7 separate regions of the Homo sapiens genome follow, and regions 1, 3, 4, 5, 6 and 7 are each linked to region 2. Evidence: promoter capture Hi-C in 16 types of primary human blood cells and fetal thymus (Javierre and others, 2016). All regions are on one chromosome and are shown on one strand. Each heading gives the region's core, a stretch centred on a gene start or on the middle of the fragment in contact. The rest is flanking DNA. Distances are from core to core; before and after follow the strand shown.

Region 1 (3,323 bases), core at 237-2,736, 340 kb before region 2:
GGTACACGACCATTCAGTCCATAACATCAGGGAAGATTAAGTTGTCTGGCACTACAGAGTCCTCAGCTGTAGGCTCATAAATAGCAGTGCCTCAAATGACGCATCAACACAGAAAAAAGGACTGAGTGCTAAAGATTTGTTTTCCAGAACTTCTCAAGTAGCTTTTCCATGAAGCCTCTTCCGTTCTTGGTCAGTACTTGAAGAGAACAAAATATTTAGTTTTTGAGATGCCACTATTAATTCTTTTCATACAATTTCTAACGTTGTCAAAACATTTTGAGCTTTATTGGTCTCCTGAGGTGGTGGTGTGTCCCTGCATATAGGAGAAAACAGTGATTCTGGAAGTACAGATTATTCATAAATCAAGAGGTGCTCACTTTGGACAAGTCTGCCAACAGGTACCAGGGTCTGTATGCCTGGCTTAAATTTGATGGGCTAAAATGTCTTCTGTTCATGTTATTGGCTAAAACGACTGATGTTTCAATAACCACTCCATCATGTGAGCCTCAAATGACAGAGCCATATTTTCCTGGAAAGACTATGCAACAATCTTTAAATAATTATATATACATATATATATAATTATAGGTGAAGACTATAAGGGCTAACAATTTACTCAGATTGACTAGACATTTCTAGGGGGACAGTCAAAATTAGAAGGCCAATCTCTAATATTTCCCTAATGGAAAATATTAGAAAATGATTATATAGAGACAGTTTTTACTGTGATGTGTCATTTATTCTCCTGAGCATTTTTCTTTATGTTTTTGAAACAGAATGTTAAATGAGACTCTGTCTTGATTTTGGCTAAGGCCTCAAAGGCTGAGAACAAAACAGTATTTCCCAGGCATCTCCCTATTCCAAAGTGAGGTGCTAACATGCCAAGGATGTGGTCATCTGGCATGTGAAAGCACTGGGATAGGAGAAGACCAGTTGCTGGGGTTCTGAGCCATCCCAGAACTCCAGCAACTGGTCTTCTATCGCAGTGTTTACATGGAGGAGGACAGCCCAATGTTTCCTGTTTACCTCAAGCCTGTGGGAGGCAGAACTTGACATAAAAAATTCAGGGACCTAGTGGATTGATATCTTCCTCAGACTTCAGGGCTCTAAGGGTGAAAAGCCATTGGGCCATTGCGGGGAAAAACTGCACCAGTGTAGTTTAGCAGCAATGGTTGGGTAATGATGTTTCCTCTGAGGGCCAAGCAGAAGAATGAAACATCCTTAGAATAATCCTTCAAAGGAGCTTCAAGTGGTAGGCAGTGGTGGTGGGCTATTTATTGGATTCCAACAAGATAGTCTGTATGGCATGGGCCCCCAGAGTGTTAGGGCTGAAATTGGAGCTTAAAAGAGGCCAGCGAGATATGACCTCTGTTCTGGGACATGCAATGGGAGGTTTCCAGTGGAGGATATTGAATCTCTGAGAAACCTACAGAGGTGTCTTGTAATTATAAACATCCACCAAGCCCAGAGCACAGCTTAAGGCCTATTCCCTGAAGGGGTCAGAAAACATAAAAGTGGAAAGGGAGGAGCAGAGGAGCAAGGCAGGGAATTGAAGCAGGTGCTGGTGACCACATTTGCCTTTCTTACTCCAGGCTTCCTGGGCTAGAAGGGGTTTGACCTGGGAGAAGTCTTAACTTTGAAAGATATGTAGGGTTTGATGATTACACTGCACCACACATTTTAATTATTGAAAGAACAACTTCTTTCAGCTAAAAGTGACCTGAGAAATTTTTATTATTTGAGAGTAGCCATATAAACGTTATGGGATTTTCTTGAGATTCTAACCTTGGACAGAGGCAGAACTATCCAAAAAAATGAGTTTAATAGAATAGGTGTGTGTGTGTGTGTGTGTCTGTATGTCTGTGTGTCTGTGTGTGTGTGTGTGTGTGTGTGTACATTGAGGGAAGGGGCAACGGGTAGTAGTAGTAGAACATTTTTCATTTGTATCCTGTAAGATGTTGCTTAATCAAATAAATAGCTATATATTTGTAGTGCCTGGAGAAAATTTCATCTAATGCCTATCAGGCAATCTGATACTTATAGATAAATAGCTAATCTTTCACTAGAAAATGAATATCTTTCTAGTACCTGTTTAGTGTCTTGTTCTCTAACCCGTAATACAATGTCTGCCATATGCCCAATAAATATTTATTGGATGAGCAGCTACTTGGAGGTAGTGGAGTTAGTATGGCTTAAGAGCTTAGGTTCTGCATCTAGATAAACCTGGGTTCAGCCAGACGCGCTGGCTCACGCCTGTAATCCCAGCACTTTGGGAGGCTGAGCCGGGTGGATCACCTGAGGTCAGGAGTTTGAGACCAGCCTGGCCAATATGGTGAAACCCCGTCTCTACTAAAAATACAAAAAAATTAGCTGGGTGTGGTGGTGCACACCTGTAGTCCCAGCTACTTGGGAGGCTGAGGCAGGGGAGAGTTGCTTGAACATGGGAGGTGGAAGTTGCGGTGAGCTGAGATCACGTCACTGCCCTCCAGCCTGGGTGACAGAGCGAGACTCTGTCTCAAAAAAGAAAAAAAATAAATAAAATAAAAAATAAAATAAATTTAAAAAATAAAAAATAAAAATAGATAAACCTGAGTTCAAATCCCAGCTCCACCATTTGCTTGCTCTGTGATTTTAGACGATTTTTAAGTTTCTTTGTGCTTCAGAGTCTTGTCTTTTACATAGATATAATAGTAGTTTATAGAGCTTTTGCAGAAGTACGTAAGATAACATAACTGGATATAAGCACATGGCCTGACTCATGTAGTGATCAGTTTATAGCCATCATAACTTATGTAAGTAAACTGTTGATACATTTTATCCCTTTTATAAAGAGCTTACACTCCATTCAAATATTGTTAGCTTAAGCTGAGTTTTACTCAAAAGAAACATGCTACTTTTAGGAGCCAATTAAAGTAGTTCCTTCCCTTCCTCCTTCCCTTTCTTCCTTCCCTTCCTCCTTCCCTTTCTTCCTTCCCTTCCTCCTTCCCTTTCTTCCTTCCCTTCCTCCTTCCCTTTCTTCCTTCCCTTCCTCCTTCCCTTTCTTCCTTCCCTTCCTCCTTCCCTTTCTTCCTTCCCTTCCCTTCTGCATTAACCATATTACCTTGAGCAAGGTATGGTGAGTTCAGAACAGATTAGGAGAAACCGGAAAGAGTTTTACAGTTTTGTGCCTCACAGTTTCCTGGGGAGAACACAGGAACACTCAGCAGAAGCACTGCAGTCAGTCATGAGGCAGAGCGAGAGAGGGCAACTGAGGGCAAGTGCCTTTATTGTGTTTTCTGCAGGCAGGGCAAGCAGGGTTAGGGTTAGCAGGGTTAGGATTGGCT
Region 2 (3,321 bases), core at 731-3,230:
TACTGTAGACACCTCATCTCATCCCAAACGATTTTTAAAGCTATCTAAGAAATTTCCATTGACTACTTAAGTTTGAAAAAGATTTTATTAAAAATATTGCACTACATGGACACATTTACAAACACAGTCATAAGATTGCAATGGTCTATAGAGAGCTGGCCCAAGTGACTAAGTATTTTTTAAAAACCATTCAATTTGATTTCTGGATTTTCATGTTTCTTTCTTATAAGACACTAAGTTACCTAATTTAAACGCAAAGCCACGTTTAAGGTGATTCTCAGACATCTGAAGGAAGGACTAAGGAATGTTCTTTAAATTGGGAAATAGGGCAGGAGAGAAATCCTAGTGCAAAGCTCCATACTCAGCAAAAGCAAGGTAAGTATGATGATGACTCATAGGCTTACTGTTGTTTGTTAAGATACATGGAATTTCCAGGAGGAAAGAAGAATGAGAGTTATGGTAAAAATAAGATGGAAGCATACAGATGTGATCCTGAAACCTTCCCTCCCACCCCTCATCAACCTGAATGCAGTAAAACAAAGTGAGCTTATATGCATTATCCATGGAATGGCAACTTTCATTCTGATTAAAGATATTTAAAAGCATCAGACATCTCTAAGAGGGCTTAGCTGAAACTCTCTATGTATTTCTGATGGCAACGTATTTGGCCATTATGAACCAAGATAGAATGTACGTTTTCTAAACTGATACTGAATTGTCTAAGTTGCTAACAAGAAATCCTTTCATAACAGTACAGTTTTTAACCTTTACTTCTTTATTCATCTTTAATTCCTTGCCACTTCCCACTGAGTTGAAATGTTTATATTAAAACAAAACACCCACTGGAATTCTAAAGAAATTGGCTCACCCATCTTTCAAATTACAAGATATTTTTTGACAGTATACAATATTCATTATAATGGAATAAACATTTTAATTTCTTAAGGAACTCTAATTTTCCTTAAAGGAGATGTTTACAACTTACTATTATAAATGCTGCCACTCAATCATAGGAGAAAATGATACTAAAATAGTTCAAGGCTAAAATCACACATAGGGCAGTTGTTCTCGAATATTTATAAGGCCACGAACTCATTTATGTATAACCTATAAACTTGAAGAATTTTTGAACCAATACAGTGGCAAGGAAAGCTAACAACCTAACTGTTAAGATCTATGGTCATTATTTTTCATTTAGTCCTAGAAATACATTTCCTTTCTGTAATGAATCAATATGGTCTAACTCAAAGAGAAACACGTGGAAGTGAAAAATAAATTTCTAAAGCAAGTGCTGATGGAAGAAGCAGAATTTCCCATTTAAAATACCCAAACAACTCCAAATTCTTTAGTAGTTAGGACTCCTGAAATCTCTTGACATAATAGAGAAGCAAAGACCCATAGAGAGATATGCGGTTAAATAGTGCTGCCTCTGGTGGCAAAAGCAGTTGCTAAGTTGTTTCACAACATATTTTTCCCCCACAGGCACAGGCCCCCCAAACACTGGAGCCGTCTACGAATTATTCTGACGCTAACTCCACAGCTCCGGACAGAAACACAATAGACGGGCGTGGTCTTATAATCATAAGCCAGTTCCTTTCTCAAGTCCTTCCTGCCTATGTTCGCTTACGTGTTATGGGTTCTGCGGTCCTGATGAAACTCCCTGAACGGAGAAAAACCACACACTTCATCCCAGTGGCGAATTTCTCCTCTTGCTCTAAGCAGGGTGTTTGACCTTCTAGTCGACTGCGTCCCCTGTACCCGGCGCCAGCTGTGTTCCTGACCCCAGAATAACTCAGGGCTGCACCGGGCCTGGCAGCGCTCCGCACACATTTCCTGTCGCGGCCTAAGGGAAACTGTTGGCCGCTGGGCCCGCGGGGGGATTCTTGGCAGTTGGGGGGTCCGTCGGGAGCGAGGGCGGAGGGGAAGGGAGGGGGAACCGGGTTGGGGAAGCCAGCTGTAGAGGGCGGTGACCGCGCTCCAGACACAGCTCTGCGTCCTCGAGCGGGACAGATCCAAGTTGGGAGCAGCTCTGCGTGCGGGGCCTCAGAGAATGAGGCCGGCGTTCGCCCTGTGCCTCCTCTGGCAGGCGCTCTGGCCCGGGCCGGGCGGCGGCGAACACCCCACTGCCGACCGTGCTGGCTGCTCGGCCTCGGGGGCCTGCTACAGCCTGCACCACGCTACCATGAAGCGGCAGGCGGCCGAGGAGGCCTGCATCCTGCGAGGTGGGGCGCTCAGCACCGTGCGTGCGGGCGCCGAGCTGCGCGCTGTGCTCGCGCTCCTGCGGGCAGGCCCAGGGCCCGGAGGGGGCTCCAAAGACCTGCTGTTCTGGGTCGCACTGGAGCGCAGGCGTTCCCACTGCACCCTGGAGAACGAGCCTTTGCGGGGTTTCTCCTGGCTGTCCTCCGACCCCGGCGGTCTCGAAAGCGACACGCTGCAGTGGGTGGAGGAGCCCCAACGCTCCTGCACCGCGCGGAGATGCGCGGTACTCCAGGCCACCGGTGGGGTCGAGCCCGCAGGCTGGAAGGAGATGCGATGCCACCTGCGCGCCAACGGCTACCTGTGCAAGTACCAGTTTGAGGTCTTGTGTCCTGCGCCGCGCCCCGGGGCCGCCTCTAACTTGAGCTATCGCGCGCCCTTCCAGCTGCACAGCGCCGCTCTGGACTTCAGTCCACCTGGGACCGAGGTGAGTGCGCTCTGCCGGGGACAGCTCCCGATCTCAGTTACTTGCATCGCGGACGAAATCGGCGCTCGCTGGGACAAACTCTCGGGCGATGTGTTGTGTCCCTGCCCCGGGAGGTACCTCCGTGCTGGCAAATGCGCAGAGCTCCCTAACTGCCTAGACGACTTGGGAGGCTTTGCCTGCGAATGTGCTACGGGCTTCGAGCTGGGGAAGGACGGCCGCTCTTGTGTGACCAGTGGGGAAGGACAGCCGACCCTTGGGGGGACCGGGGTGCCCACCAGGCGCCCGCCGGCCACTGCAACCAGCCCCGTGCCGCAGAGAACATGGCCAATCAGGGTCGACGAGAAGCTGGGAGAGACACCACTTGTCCCTGAACAAGACAATTCAGTAACATCTATTCCTGAGATTCCTCGATGGGGATCACAGAGCACGATGTCTACCCTTCAAATGTCCCTTCAAGCCGAGTCAAAGGCCACTATCACCCCATCAGGGAGCGTGATTTCCAAGTTTAATTCTACGACTTCCTCTGCCACTCCTCAGGCTTTCGACTCCTCCTCTGCCGTGGTCTTCATATTTGTGAGCACAGCAGTAGTAGTGTTGGTGATCTTGACCATGACAGTACTGGGGCTTGTCAAGCTCTG
Region 3 (3,278 bases), core at 266-2,765, 460 kb before region 2:
GTTAATACTGAGTGTCAACTTGATTGAATTGAAGGATTCAATCATGGATTAAATTATTGATCCTGGGTGTGTCTGTGAGGGTGTTGCCAAAGGAGATTAACATTTGAGTCAGTGGGCCGAGAAAGGCAGACCCACCCTTAATCTGGGTGGGCACAATCTAATTAGCTGCCAGCACAGCTAGAATATAAGCAGGCAGAAAAATCTGAAAAGAGAGACTGGCCTAGCCTCCCAGCCTACATCTTTCTCCCAGGCTGGGTGCTTCCTGTCCTCAAACATCGAACTCCAAGTTCTTCAGTTTGGGAACTCAGACTGGCTCTTTTTGCTCCTCAGCCCACAGACGGCCTATTGTGAGACCTTGTGATCATGTGAATTAATACTTAATAAACTCCCCTTTATATATATGTCTATTCCATTAATTTTGTCCCTGTAGAGAACCCTAATATAGTACCCACTTAGACTATTAAATAATTAGTCATCTTAAGGAAAAGAAAATAGCAACACATACTTAAATTGCATTGTACTGTTCTAAGCACTTCACATATATTTATTGATTTTTATCACCATAACAGACCTTATGAAAGAGATACTATGCAATAATATAATTTATATATAATCTGATCTTATTCTAAAAAAAGAGAAGCAAATACCTAGACATGTATTTGGAAATAGTACCTTTAGTTTGGGCTGCTGTGTTTCTTATCTGGAGTCTTGACTTAAGGCCCCTGGATTTGCAACTGTCAGCTAACAGCTGACAACTCTCACCTGGTATGTCAGTCAGATCCAGAAAATAACAATAATTTGCAAATAGCTCTTTAAAAACTCAGGCTTTTAGGACACAAAATTCCTCACCTGGAATGGCATTTGTCTGATGAGTAAGGAGAGATGACTTGAGAAGCTTAATGAGAAAAAATGTGTTGAGTCCAAAAGTAAATATAATAAGTTCTCAAAGAAAAATCAACCTTGTAGTAAATGGTCTTAGAAATGTCTAATGTGCATCACAGGATAACCTGTTTAAAAAATGTGACATATGCAATGGATTCCCAAAAGGTTTGTATGCACATATGGAGAGAGAATGGCCATATGGGATGAAGAGGGAGGGGATGTAGGTAGTGAAGGCTCGGACTCAGGAGGCTAACAGTGTCAGAGAACTACTTGTATAGCACTTGTAGGCTAATTGTTGGGTGGGAGAGGCAGAGAATGCAAGGAACTCAACACAGTATTTGGTATAGTAACAGGCCCTGTATGCTCGAGCTACAGTGTTGATCATTACATTCAATTAGTCAGAATCTTTTTAAGTAAGGTATCTACTTTACCATTTTTTAAAGATGTGAAGAAATCAGAGCATGAACTGAGACAGAAACACAATATTTATTCATCAATTCATTTGTTCAACCTACTTTTTGCCACACATTTTGTTTGGCATTGAAGATACAACAATAAACCCTTATGAGGCTTATATATGGAGTTCATGGAGTTGCCATGAACTGAGATTAAAAAACTGTAGGAGGAGGTTTGGTTTGGAGTGAGGAGAAGAGTAGACCTCAGTTTTGAAGATGCTTAGTTTGAGGTTTTTTGTTTTTTTTTTTTGAGTTGGAGTCTCACTCTGCTGCCCAGGCTGGAATGCAGTGGCACGATCTCGGCTCACTGCAACCTCCGCCTCCTGGGTTCAAGTGATTCTCCTGCCTCAGCCTCCAAAATAGCTGGGACTATAGGCATACGCCACCATGCCCAGATAACTTTTGTATTTTTTAGTTAGAGACAAGGTTTTACCATATTGGCCAGGCTGGTCTTGAACTCCTGACCTCAGGTGATCCACCTGCCTCAATCTGCCAAAGTGTTAGGATTACAGGCATGAGCCACAGTACCCGGCCAGTTTGAGGTTTTAGATATCTAAGTGAAGATGCTGAGCAGAGAGTTAGGTAATGAAAAAAAGAGTTTAGTGAGAAGCCTAGGCAGGAGATACACATTTGGGAGTTTTGGTAATCACTAGTGTCATTCACCAAATATTTCCATTTCACCTTCTAATATGGTTTTATGTTAGAATTGTATTTTTCTACTCATCATGGCCCTGTGACTTGCTCTGTCCAACTAAAATCAAGTGGAAATAATACATGTTACTTCTGGATGGAAGCTTTAGTAATTAATGCACAATGTCACATTCTTATCTCTGTCACAGCAGCTGGCAGTACTCTTTATGGTAGCTGCTCTACGAGCTGTGTCCCAGAGAAAGGACAACATGGGATACAATACCTAGGCAAACCACAACTGAAAGGCAACATGAGTGAGAAACCTTTCTTAAGCTACTGGGACTGGGGTGTGGTTGTTTTTAACCCAGGAAGACTTAGCCTGTTCTAACTTGAATGGGAATCATGATAGATTGAGAGATGAAGCTAGAGATATAGACAGATAATAAGAAAGAGAAGTTCCAGGGCAAGGGAGGCTGGGAGTATTCCAACATTGAAAGGTTGGGGAGTAAAGGAACCAGCCAAGACTGAGAGGAAGCATTTGAGACCATGTGGTGTCCCGGAAGTCAAGTGAAGAAAGTGCTTCAAGAAGGAAATAATGTTTAACCAGGTCAAAGGCTGCTAAGTCAAGTAAGATGAAGAATCTGGATTTCCACTTTGGAGATCATTGGAGAGCTTGGCAGGAGCAGTTTTGATGGAGCAATCAGGCAAAAGCATACTCCGAGTGGGTTTAAGTGAGAACAGGAAGAGAGAAACTGTACAGAGCAAGTCTATTTGTTTCAAAGTGTGGAAATGGGGTCATACCAGGACAGGAAAGTGGGATTGTGAGTGCCTTAAAAAAATGATAGAAATACTGCATGTTGAGTACAGATGGGAAAATAAAACATGTAGGAGGAAGGGGCAATTGTGGGAGTTGTATCCTTGAGCAGAAGAGATGGAATTAGATTTACGTGTTCAAATGGAGGGGTCAGCTTTGTTAGGAAATGGGTGGTCATGAATTTAAAGTGAGATCAATCAGCACAATTATGTGTTTTTCTTCAGACACATTCAGCTGTGTGGGTGCAGGTGTGGAGTAGATGAAGCACTGGATTCAACTAGGCTTGAAAGTGATGACTTGATTACCATTTTCAAGTACAGTTGTCCCTCAGTATCCATGGTGGATTGGTGCCAAAACCGCCACAACCCCCTTCCCCTCCAGGATACCAAAATCCTCTTATTTGAAATGGCATAATAAAGACAGGTTGGTGGTGCGTGCCTATAATCCCAGCTACTCAGGAGGCTGAAGTGGGAGGATCACCCAAGAGTTCAAGGCCA
Region 4 (3,058 bases), core at 436-2,935, 320 kb after region 2:
GGATATTTGACCTCAAAGCTACCCTTTGAGGATCTGTTCTCTTAACCTTCTCCAGGTATTGTGCATAACATACAGTGTAGACAAGAGCTGGACTAAGGGTTCTAATCCAGGAAATGTGTATGCAGAGGCAAATCGAGGAGGAAGGCTCCAGAATGATGCCTACACACTGACAGGCTAGAGGGATCCAGCATTATCATGGAAAGGAGTAAGATAATACATACAGTTTGATCAGTTTTTATCCAAGAAAAGTCCTGCTCATTATGACTTTGAAATTTGAATATGCAGATTGAGAGGTTGATCTCACAGAGGTTATTTAAAAATAAACAAATTCTAAAAATGCAGACCACACACACTATAGGAATAAAAAAGGACAAGATTTTTGGAAGAAAAAAAGGCATATTTATGGCAACAGGTCTCCAACTCCCCTCTTCTGGTGGTGGAGGGGGATTCTAAAGTATGTTTTGCATTGTCTTCCAGAGTTCCCCAGTAGAACTGAGCCCTGGTTGCCCACAATGGTAAACTGATCAGTAATGGGCTCTTTATTTGTTTCTTCCCTTCCCTATCAGATGTCCCTACTCCCTCATCAGTGCTTCCTTGGATTGTCTCCGAAGAAACTGCTTCCACACAAATCCTCATGTCAGTGCCTACTTCTAATGAAACCCAACCTAAGACGGTGTGTATACCCATGAGTCCCTCAGGACTGTAAGAATACCCTATTTCTGTATTTTCCTCAGGGAGGCAATAGTGAATAAGAAGCAGTGTAAAGCTCGATCTGAAAACAGAAAAGAACTCTAGTCCTCCTGAAAAAGTACGCTTATAGGTGGAGGTCAGTCTCATGCATGCTATCTATTAGTTTCCTAGGGTTGTCATGACAAAAAGCCATAAACTTGGGGGCTTAAAAGAACATAAACATATTCTGTCATAGCTCTGGAGCCTAGATGTCCAAATTCCAGGTGTTAGCAGGGTCATGCTCCCCATGAAGGGTCTTGGGAAGGAATCATCCTTGCCTCTTCCTAGCTTCTGAGGGTAGTCTGCGATCCTTGATGTCTGTGGGTTGGCAGCTGCATCACCCCAGTCTCTGCCTCCAACTTCACGTGGCGTTCTTCCAAGTGTGTCTCTCTGTATCTTCACACAGTGTTATAAGGACACCAGTGTTGAATTTAGGGATCCTCCCTCTTCCTGCAATCCAATATGACCCTCATCTTAACTTGATTATATCTGTAAATACTGTTTCCAAATAAGATCACACTCATAGATACCAAGGGTGTGGACTTGAACATATTTAAGGAGGGACACGATTTAACCCACAACATGCTATATCCACCAGCCTAACAGAAGACAAGTCAAGCAGCTTTCTGTCCCTGCTCACTCACACGTAACAAATATGATGATGATGAGGAGGAGGAAAATGATGGTGATGATGAGAATTTTAGAAATCTACTCCAGCCAGGAACAAAACTCTCAGCAGTTAGAATATACAGAAAACCCACGGCCAATGCTTCCTAACTCCTACTTACATCTGCTTTTTATTTATCTTTCTAGGCTAGTGACGGTTTCTAGAACCTTTGCTCTGAGCATTCAGTAACTGCTTTGGATTTTAATGCCCTGTCTCCTGAGAATAGTAAGTGTATTTCTGACAACACAATGCCTTCCCGAGATGAAGTGAGAGCCAAAAGTGCCAGCTCATCAACCCCTCAGTCCCTGACCTTAGCTGAATTTGGTCGCTCCGACGAACAGAGCTAGCCAGGAAGAAAACAGCCACATGACATTTTCTACCATTGGGTGCTTGCATCTGAGTGTGTCCCTTGTTAAAGGCAATCCTCTCTCATCTCTAGAAGCATACCTGGTTTTCAAGTTAAATACTCCAGGTCCTTGAGTAATTCACAAACAGGTCATGGTATAATATTTGAGCCATATAAATGTGTATTTAGCTGCTTTGATGCAATTTCTCTTTGGCTTACTAATGAGAAGGCATTGAAAAGAAAAAGGGAGGGTTATTGAACAACCAGAGCAAAACGTCCATCACTAATTATCTGAAAGCCCAAAGATCCAGCATCCTGATTAGCACAGGCCTGGAAAAAGCACAGAGTAAAACTGGACATTTATTCCTCAATTAGAGCATAGAATGATTACTGCCTTCCAGATGTCCTAGGGAACAACCCTTCAACTTCATCACTCCTTGAATAGAAAAGTAATTTAAAGGACAAAGAAGTGCCCACCTGGGCTCTATGAACACAGCATCAAAATTCTCTGGTAAGGAAGGCGTGCCTGACATTTTTCAGCTTTTATCTCTTCATCAAATTAGCCTCTTGCTGAGGTAAAAACAAGAAGAGCAGCTTACAAAATTATATATGCAGTGGTATCTCAGCTACTTAAAAATGTAAACAGAGGAGAAAAAGATAGAAGAAAACACAACAAATTACTAACTACTAATCTTTGAAAATGGAATTGGGAGTGTTTTATTATTTTCTTTTTAATACTTTTACATTTTCTACAATAAGCATATATTGTTAGTAATTTATCATTCATGGTATTGAATGCTTACAATATACATGCACATATTTCATTTAATTCTGACCAAAAAGGAAAACAAAAGAACCTATGTAGGAAGTATTATCCCCATTACATAACTTGCCTAAGGTCACTTAGCTGATATATGGCAGTCAATATTCACACCTAAGTCTACGTAATTTTGTTGTCTCCCATATATTGTTCTCATGATCAGAAGGAGAAAAGAAGACATACTCAAAATAATATCTAATACAGAAAGGATAGTGGAATCAACTTGTGTAAAAAAAAGAAAAAAAAGTTTCCGAAAAAAATGCCACTGCAGAGGCTAAAAAACTGTAATAATATTTTATCTCAGATGCACCCAATATCGGTTACCAGATAGTCCATGATCTTTCCACATGAAAATGCATATTACTAACCATGGCACCTTATACTGCGCATGAAAACCCAGGGCATATAGGTAGATTCTGCAACTCTTTTGAGGAGGGCCAACACAATGACCCAAGTCTGAGTCAACCTTCACCATTTAGAGAGATTTGTAACCTCA
Region 5 (3,502 bases), core at 406-2,905, 360 kb after region 2:
AACAAAATATCTCATCATGTTTTTGTCTTTTCATTTTTGTTCTTGAGTAAGTAATACATTTACTTGTTTCAAACTCAAAGCAATGTAAAGGTATACTCGGGGAAGTCATGCTACCACCCAAGTCTCCATCCACTTCATTCCTCCACTTTTATTAGTTTATTGTTTATCCTTCCAAGGTTTCTTTATGCAAATACATGCAAATCAAATATATATTCTCATTTTCTGTGCTGGCCATACACAAAATGTAGCATATTATATATACTTGTTGTACCTTTCTTTTTTTAACTTAACAATATAACCTAGAAATGGATTTTTCTCACTTTTTCGTAGGTTTATAATCATACTACTTTTGACATTTAGGTCATTTGAATAAGATTCAATCTATAAGACCTGCCTTCTTAAACCCTGTTTTGGTCCTCTCTGAGATTCGATGCCACTATTTGGCCAGTTAAAACTAAGCGGCCCTTTTTGCTTAAGTTTAATTATCCATGATCGATCTTCTTCAAAATGTAGGTGAAGTTTCTCTACTATCCAGCACATGATATGGCCAATGTTTTTATTAAGAAAATAAATTTTATTAAAGCCACTACATGAAATATTTCTTTTGATGGACACTAAAATAATAAGCATACATAAAGTATCATAATAGCTTAATAATAATTCAGTATTTTGGAGTTGCCAAGTATAAAACTGGAGGCTTCAGAATTAATTTTAAGGATTGAGCCCTGGTTATTAGCAGACACATGTCTGCTTTAAAACTTTGTCCTTTTCACTATTAGAAAGCCAAAGGCTGCTTTGGCTCTTAGAGCCTTAGTAGAGCCTCAGAATTGACCCATTAGGCTAGTCTCTGATTAAATGGACCCCAAAGTGTTAGCCTGAACTCTTTTGTTAATTGCCTTGAGTGAGTTTGCCTAATCAAAGGAACGTGTGAAACCTCTGATCTGTATGGCAGCCTTAAGATTTCTGATCTTCATTATCTTCTATAAAAGTACATCACTTTTGTATTTTTCAGTTCCTTTTCAATCCCCTGATAAGAATGACCTGTTAATAGATAAACTTAGGCACATTAAAATTTTAACAAGTTTATTTGAGCATTCAGCAATTCATGAACCCAGCAGTCTCAGACTACAAGTGGTTCAGCACTCCACTGAGAGGGTGCAAGGGGAAAACTTGTATAAGGTGTTTGTGGAAGCAAGACAAAGAAAATATCTGATTGATTTAGGCTGAAAATCTCTAGTTACAGGTTGGTTAGCAATTTCTGATTGGTTAAACTAAAGTTTTATTTTAGTATTTAGGTTGAGTTAGGTTTTGGTTTGCTTACAAAGGCACTGGAGCCATCTCAGCCTAGTGGACTTGAAATCAATTATTATAATAGATCCCCTACCTAAGAAAGCCAGCATCCCTAAAGGAAAATAAATACTGAGGACTTTATGCAAAGCAAAGAAATGGATGTAAAGACGTGGATCCTCATTGCCCTCACAATACTTCTTTTCCTTGAAAAAAGGCTGAGAATGGATAAAGATAAATTTAGGCACAGTAAGGACAAAGATAAAGAATAGCAAGAACTTGTAGCTTGGATTATTGATGCCAGAGAAGTGGAGACCCCATGTGGAGAATATTTTTACCCGTTTCCCACCACTGCTTCCCGGACAGAGATAATCTGGGACCCCTGTGAGTATAGCCCAGCTGGCAACCTTGCCATATTTCCATCCTGCAAGGCTTCATTCAGGACAGCGCAGGAACTTATAGGTCAGTCTAAACACTAAACAAGAACATTAGCCTTAACAACACAAATTAGTAATTCATTTCTTCCTTATGTAGCTGAGCACTTAATGATCCAAATCTTGGCGACTGAGTTGGGTAATAGTTCATTGCTGGATGACCCATCTTGACTTTCAAAGTTGCTATTGTTTTTACATTATCCTCAAGTGTTATCATTAAGTTGTGAGCAAGACTAATTTTCTTAATCATTCCCAATCTCCCCAACCATTTTTCACTGAATAATATCATCAACAGGCTGCACAAATTGGACATCTGAGATTTAGTTGAATTAGTAACACCTAAAAGATCATTTATGGCTGCAGCAATAAGCCTCCCATTTCATCTAATTAGAGAGCAAGATTATTTCCCTAAATCCCCACTAATATTTTGAGTTGACAAACAATGAAGCAATCCTGATAAAGTGAATAAATGAGTTTCATAAAGCCACTGCTTTTTTGTTCCTTCTTCAATAAACTGAACACTACACCCCAAGCACAAGTTTAAGAGCCAAGAACAAAATATATAAGCACCGGTCACAACAGTTATTAGGCAATATACTCCACAGAAACTGTCCTGAATCTTCAGAAGCATATTAACTTTGGGGCAACAATCCACCAGGAACATTGCTACGGCTTTTATGCTTAAATTCTTAAACATGCAGGAACAGAGACAAATGTTGCTTGGTCCCTTTATCATGAGAGTACTTAAGTATTTACTAAAGCTAACGTCTCCCAATAAATTACAGTTCATTCCCCAAAGATGGTTATTTCTCAAAAAAGCTATGAAGCGTTTAAAAAGAATGGTCAATAAGATTTCATGGAGAAATGGCAGTCTAGCTAAGCCTGCTCTAGCTTGGTATATGACAACTTTTTTCATCTGAGACAATGTCTATTTTGAACACATGTGTGATATGAAAATAAACGGAAAATTATGAACGCAATGTTAGTGAGTGTGTTATATAGCAAACAAGATGGGAAATAATATAGGAAATGCACAGAACAGGACATAGAGAATGAAAGCAATAATTAAATAAAAAGGAGAGAGGAAAAATGAACAGAAAGAAGACAGAAATGAAGAGAAAGTTTAAAGGGCAAGAGAAACCCTGCCGAGTCTGGCTTGACAAGTGGTATATGATCATTTACATAATCCATGAGAAAATTTTGGTAGGTCAGGACTTAGAGTGGTTGCCTAGGTTTCCTGTGAACATACCTGGCTTTGTCCCAAAGCTATTAATGCACGGTGACCCTGGCATGATCACCTGCCCTGGGACAACTCATTCCATACTTTGGCTTACTTGGCAACACCATTGTGGAAGGAAAAGGGAGAGGCTGTATTAAGGAAGCAGCAAGAAAAAGGGGTATCCAGTGGAATACCAGGAAATTCTGCGTTCCTTTTCCCTCAATGGTAGTTCAGGTAGCGTCCCTTAACATTTGTCCTCAGCAAAATTAAATGTGTCACCCACTTCGCCAGGTACAATGGAAGTTGTACAATGGGCAGAATTTGAAAGTTGCTTTGTGGCAACTAATACATATCTAGTCATTTGTTTTAAAGTTGATTACTCAGTTTGAGATGTGCAAACTTACTTTTCCTAGAAATCCAGGAAAACAACTAAACCCCTTGACTTCCTGAGGATCAGTTGCACAGCTTAAGGCAAATAAATGTCAGCAAAGCAAAGGGGGTCTGACTGTTGTTTTTCCTCTCTCCATAAGTGCAAATAGCACCCTAGCAGGAGTCGGGAGAG
Region 6 (3,521 bases), core at 75-2,574, 350 kb before region 2:
ATTTTTGTATATTTAGTAGAGATGGGGTTTCACCATGTTGGTCAGGCTGGTCTCAAACTCCTGACCTTGTTATCCACCTGCCTCGGCCTCCCAAAGTGCTGGGATTACAGGCATGAGCCACCATGCCCCTGCCTGGCTTTGGGTAATTCTATAGTTTGAATGTTTGTTCCCTCCAAAACTCACATTGAAATTTAATTGCCATTGTAATAATATTAGGAAGTGGGATGTTTAAGAATTGATTAGGCCATGAATGCTCTCCCTTCATGAATGAATAAATACTGTTATTTCGGGATTGGGTTGTTAAAAAGGATGAGTTCAGTTCCTTCTCTCTCTCTGTCACCCTCTCTTTGCCCTTATGCTATGTTATGACACCTCAAGAAGGCCCTTGCTAGATGCTGATACTGTAGTCTTACACTTCCCAGGCTCCAGAACTGTGACAAATAAGTTTCTGTTTCTCATAAATTATCCAGTCTGTGATATTCTGTTATAGTAGCAGAATGCAAAGATATAAAATTGGTATCAAGAAGAGGGGCTGTTTCTATAACAAATACCTGAAAATGTAGAGGCAGCTTTGAAATTGAGTAAGGGGTAGAAGCTGAAAAAATTTAGAAGAGGAGGTTAGGAAAAAACCTAGGTTGCTGTAAATGAGGTATTAAGAGTAATTCTGGTGAGGGCTCTGGCAAGAAGAGCTGTAGCTAAAGCCTGAAACCTCTTAGAGGTTACTTAAGTGGTTGCCATCCTAATGTTGGTAGAAATGTGGGCAGTTAAGGTAATTCTGATGAGATCTCAGAAATAAAAATCAAGGTACTGGGGTACTGGCTCTGGAGGGATGGTCATCATCTTTGTTATAAAGTGGCAAAGAACTTGGCTACATTGTGTCTGTGCCCAGGCAAAGCAATGAACTAGGATATCTGGCTGGAGGAATATCTATGCAGAAAAGCATTGAAGGATCTATGTGGCGTCTTTTAACCGCATATAGTAAAATTCAAGGAAAGAGAAATGATTTAAAGGTGGAATTAATAATTAAAATGGAAGCAGAATGAAAAGATGTGGAAAATTGTCAGCCTGGCAATGTAAAAAATTTTAAAAGCATGTTCGGGAGAGAATCCTAACGATGTTGCCAAGTGACTGCTGAAGGGATTGATATGGCTAGAAAAATGTCAGGTGCTATTCACTAAGACAATAGAATGACTCCAGTGGTATTTCAGAAATCTTTGGACCAAGCCAGGGTCTTGAGGGCAAGGTTTCTGGAGAGGGGCCCAGGGCACCCATGGGGCTTCAGCTTTTGCTGCCCTGTCCCTCCTCAAGTATCTGCTCCTCACATTCCAGAACAACACTTCTCCACTGCCCCAGCTATGGCTCAAGAAGGCCCAAGTGCTGCTCTGACCACCACTGGGGATGGAACAGCTGTGAATGTAGGCAGAATTCACATGGTGATAACCCTGGAGAGGTGCAGAGTACATGAGTTGTGGGACTGTGGAGGTCTCAACCTAGGTTTCAAAGGATGTATTGAACAGTCTTTGGACTCAGATGAAAACATGCCACAGGGAAATAGCTGCCAAAGAGAATCTCCACTAGAACTATGCTTGCTGGAGCCCTGGGGGTGGCGGCAGCCCACTCCAGAACAGTAGCACTGCCAGTGTGCAATGCCAGCCTGGGAGAGCTGCAGGTATGAGACTCTAACCTGTGGGAGCTACTGTGTGGGCTGAACCCAACAAAGCCATAGGGCAGGGCTGTCCAAGGCCATGGGGACCCAATTCCCATTCCAGTGTGCATATAAGGTGGGACATAGAGGCAAGGAAGATTATTCTGGAGCCTTAGGATTTGATGTTGTTCACCCTATTGGGTTTTGGACTTACTTGGGACCAGCTATCCCTTTTTTCTTGCCTTTTTCTCCCTTCTGGAAGGAGAATGTCTATCTTGTGTCTATCTGACCACTGTGTTTTAGAGGTAGACAACTTGTTTGATTACATAGGCTCATGGCTGAAGAGCAAGTTGCCTTAGGATGAATTGTGCCTTGAATCTCACACATATGATGTTGAAGATGAGACTTTGGACTTTTGAGTTTGTGCTAGAACACATTAAGACTTTTAGGGCTATTGAGGTAGAATCAATGTATTTTGTATGTAGGAAAGACATTAGTTTTGGGGAGTTGGGTGGAATGCTATGAATATTTGCCTTAAAGTGGGTAATTAGGCTTTAAGAGGTAATTAGGCCACGAGGTCTACACCTTCATGAGTGGATTGATGGTTTTTTTTTGTTTTTATGGGAGTGGGTTTGTCATAAAAGGGTGAGTTTGGCTCCCTTCACTCTCTCTCTCCCCTCTCTTTCTCTCTCTCCCTGTCTCTCCCTCTCTTTGCTCTTATTGCCATTTTATGACACACCAAGAAGGCCCTTGTTCCATATGCCAGCACCTTGATCTTGGCCTTCTCAGACCCTAGAACAGAAATAAATTTTTGTTCATTATAAATTGCTCAGTCTGTGGTATTCTGCAATAACAGCACAAAAGGAACTAAGAAATGTAGTATGGACATTTTAACACTATTTATTCTTTCAATCCTTGAACACAGGATATCTTTCCATTTATTTGTGTATTTTTCAATTTCTTTCATCAATGTTTTTTAGTTTTCAGTATACAGATCTTTCACTTTCTTGGTTAATTTACTCCTAAGTATTTTTTTGATGCTATTATAAATTGTTTTATTATTTTCTTTTTCTGATAGTTTATGGTTAGTGTATAGAAATGCTACATACTTTTGTGTGTTGACTTTGTGTTCTGCAACTTTACTGAATTCATTTTTTTTTTTTTGGTAGAGTCTTTAGGGCTTTCTATATATATGATAATGTCATCTGCAAACAAATTCAATTTAACTTGTTCCTTTTCGATTTGTATGCCTTATATTTCTTTCTCTTGCCTAATTGCCCTCTCTAGGACTTCCAGTAATATATTGAGTAGAAATGGTGAGAGTGAGCATCCTGGTCTACTTCTTGATCTTAGAGAAATAGTGTGAGCATCCTGGTCTACTACTTCTTGATCTTAGAGAAAAAACTTTCAATATTTGACTGTTGAGTATGATGTTAGCTGTAATTTTGTCATATATGGCCTTTATTGTGTTGAGATACATCTCTTCTACACCTAATTTGTTGAGAGTTTTTTTGTGAAGAGATGTGGAATTTTGTCAAATGCTTTTTCTGCATGTAACTCATATTTTTCTTAATGTCAGCACTTAAAAGGACTTTTTACAACTTCAAGGGAAAGATACTTCTTTTAATGTTAAAATTACAGAGTTCTCTTTTTTGAATTTACAGAAATTTACATTCCAAAGCTTCTAAAGAAGCGTCTCTAATACTAATACCTTTTTTAAAATTTAAATGTAAATAGTTATACCTGGGGATTACTATGAACTGTTAAAAGACAGTTAATATTTTCTTGAAAATTCCCAACAGAACTCAAGCTTAAATGTTTACAAATAAGCTGTTAAGACCATTGTTCGGAAGAAGAACTTAAACTGTTAGACTTA
Region 7 (3,172 bases), core at 300-2,799, 340 kb after region 2:
ACTGACACTAATATAGGAGAAAATCATTCCCCTTTTTCCTTGAAAAACAAAAGCACATACCCACTTGTATTTCCTCTCTATGGCTCCTAGTATAGTCTCAACCAGTCACATTAATTCAACTTTTAACTAAAACTATAATTTCTATTTCACAGCACAAACTAGAAACTAGAAAGTTGACAAATACATCATAATTAGGAATTTTACCAGTACAATAAAACTAATGAATACTGATAACAAAAATTTCTCCTGCTACACATATCACTTTACGCCCTCACAAAGTAGCAAAAATAAAATATTCATTTCTGTATTATTCTGAATATCCTGTTTAGTCTGTTTGTGTTGCTATAACAGAATACCTGAGGCTGGGTAATTTATAAAGAAAAGAGGTATTTTGGCTCATGGTTCTGCAGGCTGTACAGGAAGTGTGGTGCCAGCATCTGCTTCTGGTGAAAGCCTCAGGAAGTTTCCAATCATGGCGGAAGGCGAAGGGGAACCAGCATGTCACATGGTGAGACAGGGAGCAAGAGAGAGGGGGAGCAAACAAGAAAGGAAGAAGACAGGGAGTGGGAGGTGCCAGGCTCTTCTAAACAACCAGTTCTCACATAAAGTCATAGAACAAGAACTCATTACCAGGAGGATGGCACCAAGCCATTCATAAAGGATCCACCCTCATGATTCTAACACCTCCCACCAGGCCCCACCTCCAACAGTGGGGATCACATTTCAACATGAGATTTGAAGGAGACAAAACATCCAAACCATATCATAGCCCAAAGATATACCCACTATATAGTGTATCACAGTTAGATGCGAAATTATATGAACTTGAAATTATGTATAGTAATCAACATTTCAGTACCAATACTATATATGAATTATCTTGGTATCTACTGATTATACTTTAATTAACATAATTTATAAAATTCCAAAGTTTTAAGTTACCTAAGAATTTTGAAAATTATGTTCAAATTGACACACTACAGAACATAACTACTGCTGTAAAAATGTCAGAATTATGAAGACAAATTTACAGTTTTATCATCTTGAGCGTTATATAACTATAATGTTTATTTGATCTGTAAGACAATGTAAGAAGTTTAGAATGTTCATATATTAACTAATCTCCTTATGAGAAACATACTTAAATCATGTTTACAAAGGAAACTAAAAAGATGGCTATGCTATACTGAACGCTAGTAAATCACAGAAAATTATAGAAGCAGTCTAATTCATCCAAACATTCCCTTAATTTTGTGAGCCTGGATTCTTAAAATATTTCTGTGATACAAGTTTCTGTAAGAAGAATTGCTTTCACACATTTAAAGTATTAAAGATTCGGGGTTTTTGTGAATTCTTGGAATACTTGATTTATATAAGGACTTGTTTATCTTGAAAAAGCAATCAGAACAGATCTCCTTTAATTTAATGGACATTAGACCTAATTTTTAAATACTCTCCAGAAGTAAGAAAATGCTGCCCATTCATACACAAGAGGTAAAGGCTTTTTGGAATTACAAACAAATAATTTTTAGCCCAAGTATACAACTTCAGCTGCAGGTCCAAAGTAAGACCAGAAACATAAAAACTCACTAGTCTAGATCGCAAGAGCTGTTGCCCTTCCATAATGGTCACAGAGTATTTTTCAATCGATTAGAGTTCACAAATAGGCAAACAGAAAAAGATTAACAAATCAAATCCTGTCATCTCTCACCCTTCAGAGACTAGATCTCCATCATCCATTGGACAGAGATCACCAGTGGTCAGACCATAAAACACAATTCCCAATCATTGCTGCCACCAATGGGGAATGACTACTGCCCATTCAGGAACCAGAAAAAGCAAAAGCACAAAATCAATATAAAGAGAGAGGAAAAAAATAATAGAGGAACAGAGCATTGGCAAACTTTAGTTGCTGCTGAGGATCTACTTTAAGGGGCAAGAAAAGACGAACTTGAGCATACACAGCCCACGAGCTACACTTATCCAGAAATACAGCACCCTCTTGAGTGCGCTTGGGTGTTCTAGTGATTTCTCTCCAAAACTTAAAAAAGTCATTTTCAAAAAGACAACACCATGATTCTCATTCAATATAAAATGAATGTTTGCCAATAATTTTACCTCATTAAAAAATGAGGAAACCAGTAAAATGTTAACAAAAGGTTCAAAGACGATTAAAGAAGGTAAGTATATACAGGTAATTTGATAAAGGAATGATAAGATAAAATCACTAGGTTAAATACAAAACTTTTTAGTGTCTTAGGGCCATGAGCTGTATCCTTTTGTTCCACTAAACAGAAATTATTTTCATCTCTAGAGCACAAAAATCTAGACATTAACCTCTACCACTGCAGGCTTCTGCCACCACACACTTTAAACAATTCAGTCAATAAAAAGTCAAGCCCAGACCTGCATGGGAAATAGCACTGAACAATCTCTTTTATCAATTTCAAACTTTTGGATAATTTTTGTCCTGACAGAGCTCAAGAGTTTTTACCTGCCTCAGTATGTCTCTATTAATGCACCCTACTGGAATCTGTGAGCCCTTTCTGTGTGTAGATTTAGATCTTCAGAGCTTCCTTCAAATCACAGACATTTCTTGCTATTGTTTAATTACTGACATTCCTTCTCCCGTTCCTCTCTATTTTTGGAATTCCTACAATGAGTATAGTGAGTCTTATGGAGCTAATCTTATCTTCTCCATAATGACTTCCATCTTTTGATATGTTTTCACAAATTTCTATTTCAAAAGTGACCTTCCTTTCCAAATCAGCCAGCGAAATCACTAGGATAATCTTTGATTACAGAAACTCTTATTTGGTTATATTTAAATCTCCTTAAATGCTCTGATTATGTCTTTTGCTTCAGTTGTATTCCATCTCCTCCTGCAACCCTATTTTACCAAGTATGTGTCCTATTTGTACTGACTACTCACCTTTCTTCTACTGAGTCTTTTAGGTAAGTTGTCTTTTTATTATTGTTATTGTTGTTGACTCATTGAAGATAACATCTGACAGTCTCTCTGCCCCTTATGAGAAGGACTCAATCCACACATATTCAGCTGATTTTTGGCCTATAGGGGTTAGAAAATCTAATATATTTATATAAAGTCACTGTCGATCCCTGCAAGGTGTAGTGAGCATACATCTGTATAAAACAAGCTCTTTCCAAGAAC

Evidence for each region. The method cuts DNA at HindIII sites, captures the fragments that hold promoters and counts their contacts. A CHiCAGO score of 5 or more calls a contact.
Region 1: a contact is called between a fragment that was not itself captured here and the fragment with the promoter of CLEC14A in region 2, in 1 of 17 cell types (endothelial precursors). The highest score is 7.7, in endothelial precursors.
Region 3: a contact is called between a fragment that was not itself captured here and the fragment with the promoter of CLEC14A in region 2, in 2 of 17 cell types (endothelial precursors and megakaryocytes). The highest score is 7.8, in endothelial precursors.
Region 4: a fragment that was not itself captured here is called in contact with the fragment with the promoter of CLEC14A in region 2 in 1 of 17 cell types (neutrophils); the score reaches 10.2 in neutrophils.
Region 5: a contact is called between a fragment that was not itself captured here and the fragment with the promoter of CLEC14A in region 2, in 1 of 17 cell types (neutrophils). The highest score is 7.8, in neutrophils.
Region 6: a contact is called between a fragment that was not itself captured here and the fragment with the promoter of CLEC14A in region 2, in 1 of 17 cell types (endothelial precursors). The highest score is 5.8, in endothelial precursors.
Region 7: a fragment that was not itself captured here is called in contact with the fragment with the promoter of CLEC14A in region 2 in 4 of 17 cell types (neutrophils, naive CD8 T cells, naive CD4 T cells and 1 more); the score reaches 7.1 in neutrophils.

What each region holds. Positions count from the first base shown.
Region 1 is chr14:38,589,724-38,593,046 of GRCh38, reverse strand. No RefSeq gene overlaps it. Among named protein-coding and RNA genes, the nearest start is that of LINC00639, 330 kb to the left of the region's middle. The HindIII fragment of the contact is 4,708 bases long and covers 1-3,323 here.
Region 2 is chr14:38,254,752-38,258,072 of GRCh38, reverse strand. It overlaps CLEC14A (C-type lectin domain containing 14A), which reads left to right and starts at 1,980. Exons shown (of 1, transcript NM_175060.3): 1 at 1,980-3,321. The coding sequence starts at 2,051. It overlaps LOC112268136 (a long non-coding RNA gene), which reads right to left and starts at 2,028. Exons shown (of 5, transcript NR_169588.1): 1 at 1,628-2,028. RefSeq lists an enhancer at 2,171-2,798. The HindIII fragment of the contact is 4,914 bases long and covers 1-3,321 here.
Region 3 is chr14:38,718,140-38,721,417 of GRCh38, reverse strand. No RefSeq gene overlaps it. Among named protein-coding and RNA genes, the nearest start is that of LINC00639, 200 kb to the left of the region's middle. The HindIII fragment of the contact is 1,236 bases long and covers 898-2,133 here.
Region 4 is chr14:37,930,801-37,933,858 of GRCh38, reverse strand. No RefSeq gene overlaps it. Among named protein-coding and RNA genes, the nearest start is that of LINC00517, 30 kb to the right of the region's middle. The HindIII fragment of the contact is 3,705 bases long and covers 1-3,058 here.
Region 5 is chr14:37,894,759-37,898,260 of GRCh38, reverse strand. LINC00517 (long intergenic non-protein coding RNA 517) reads left to right here. Exons shown (of 2, transcript NR_135286.1): 2 at 1-2,201. Among named protein-coding and RNA genes, the nearest start is that of LINC00517, 5.6 kb to the left of the region's middle. RefSeq lists an enhancer at 3,223-3,502. The HindIII fragment of the contact is 6,010 bases long and covers 1-3,502 here.
Region 6 is chr14:38,606,611-38,610,131 of GRCh38, reverse strand. No RefSeq gene overlaps it. Among named protein-coding and RNA genes, the nearest start is that of LINC00639, 310 kb to the left of the region's middle. The HindIII fragment of the contact is 4,009 bases long and covers 1-3,328 here.
Region 7 is chr14:37,911,321-37,914,492 of GRCh38, reverse strand. No RefSeq gene overlaps it. Among named protein-coding and RNA genes, the nearest start is that of LINC00517, 11 kb to the right of the region's middle. The HindIII fragment of the contact is 6,750 bases long and covers 1-3,172 here.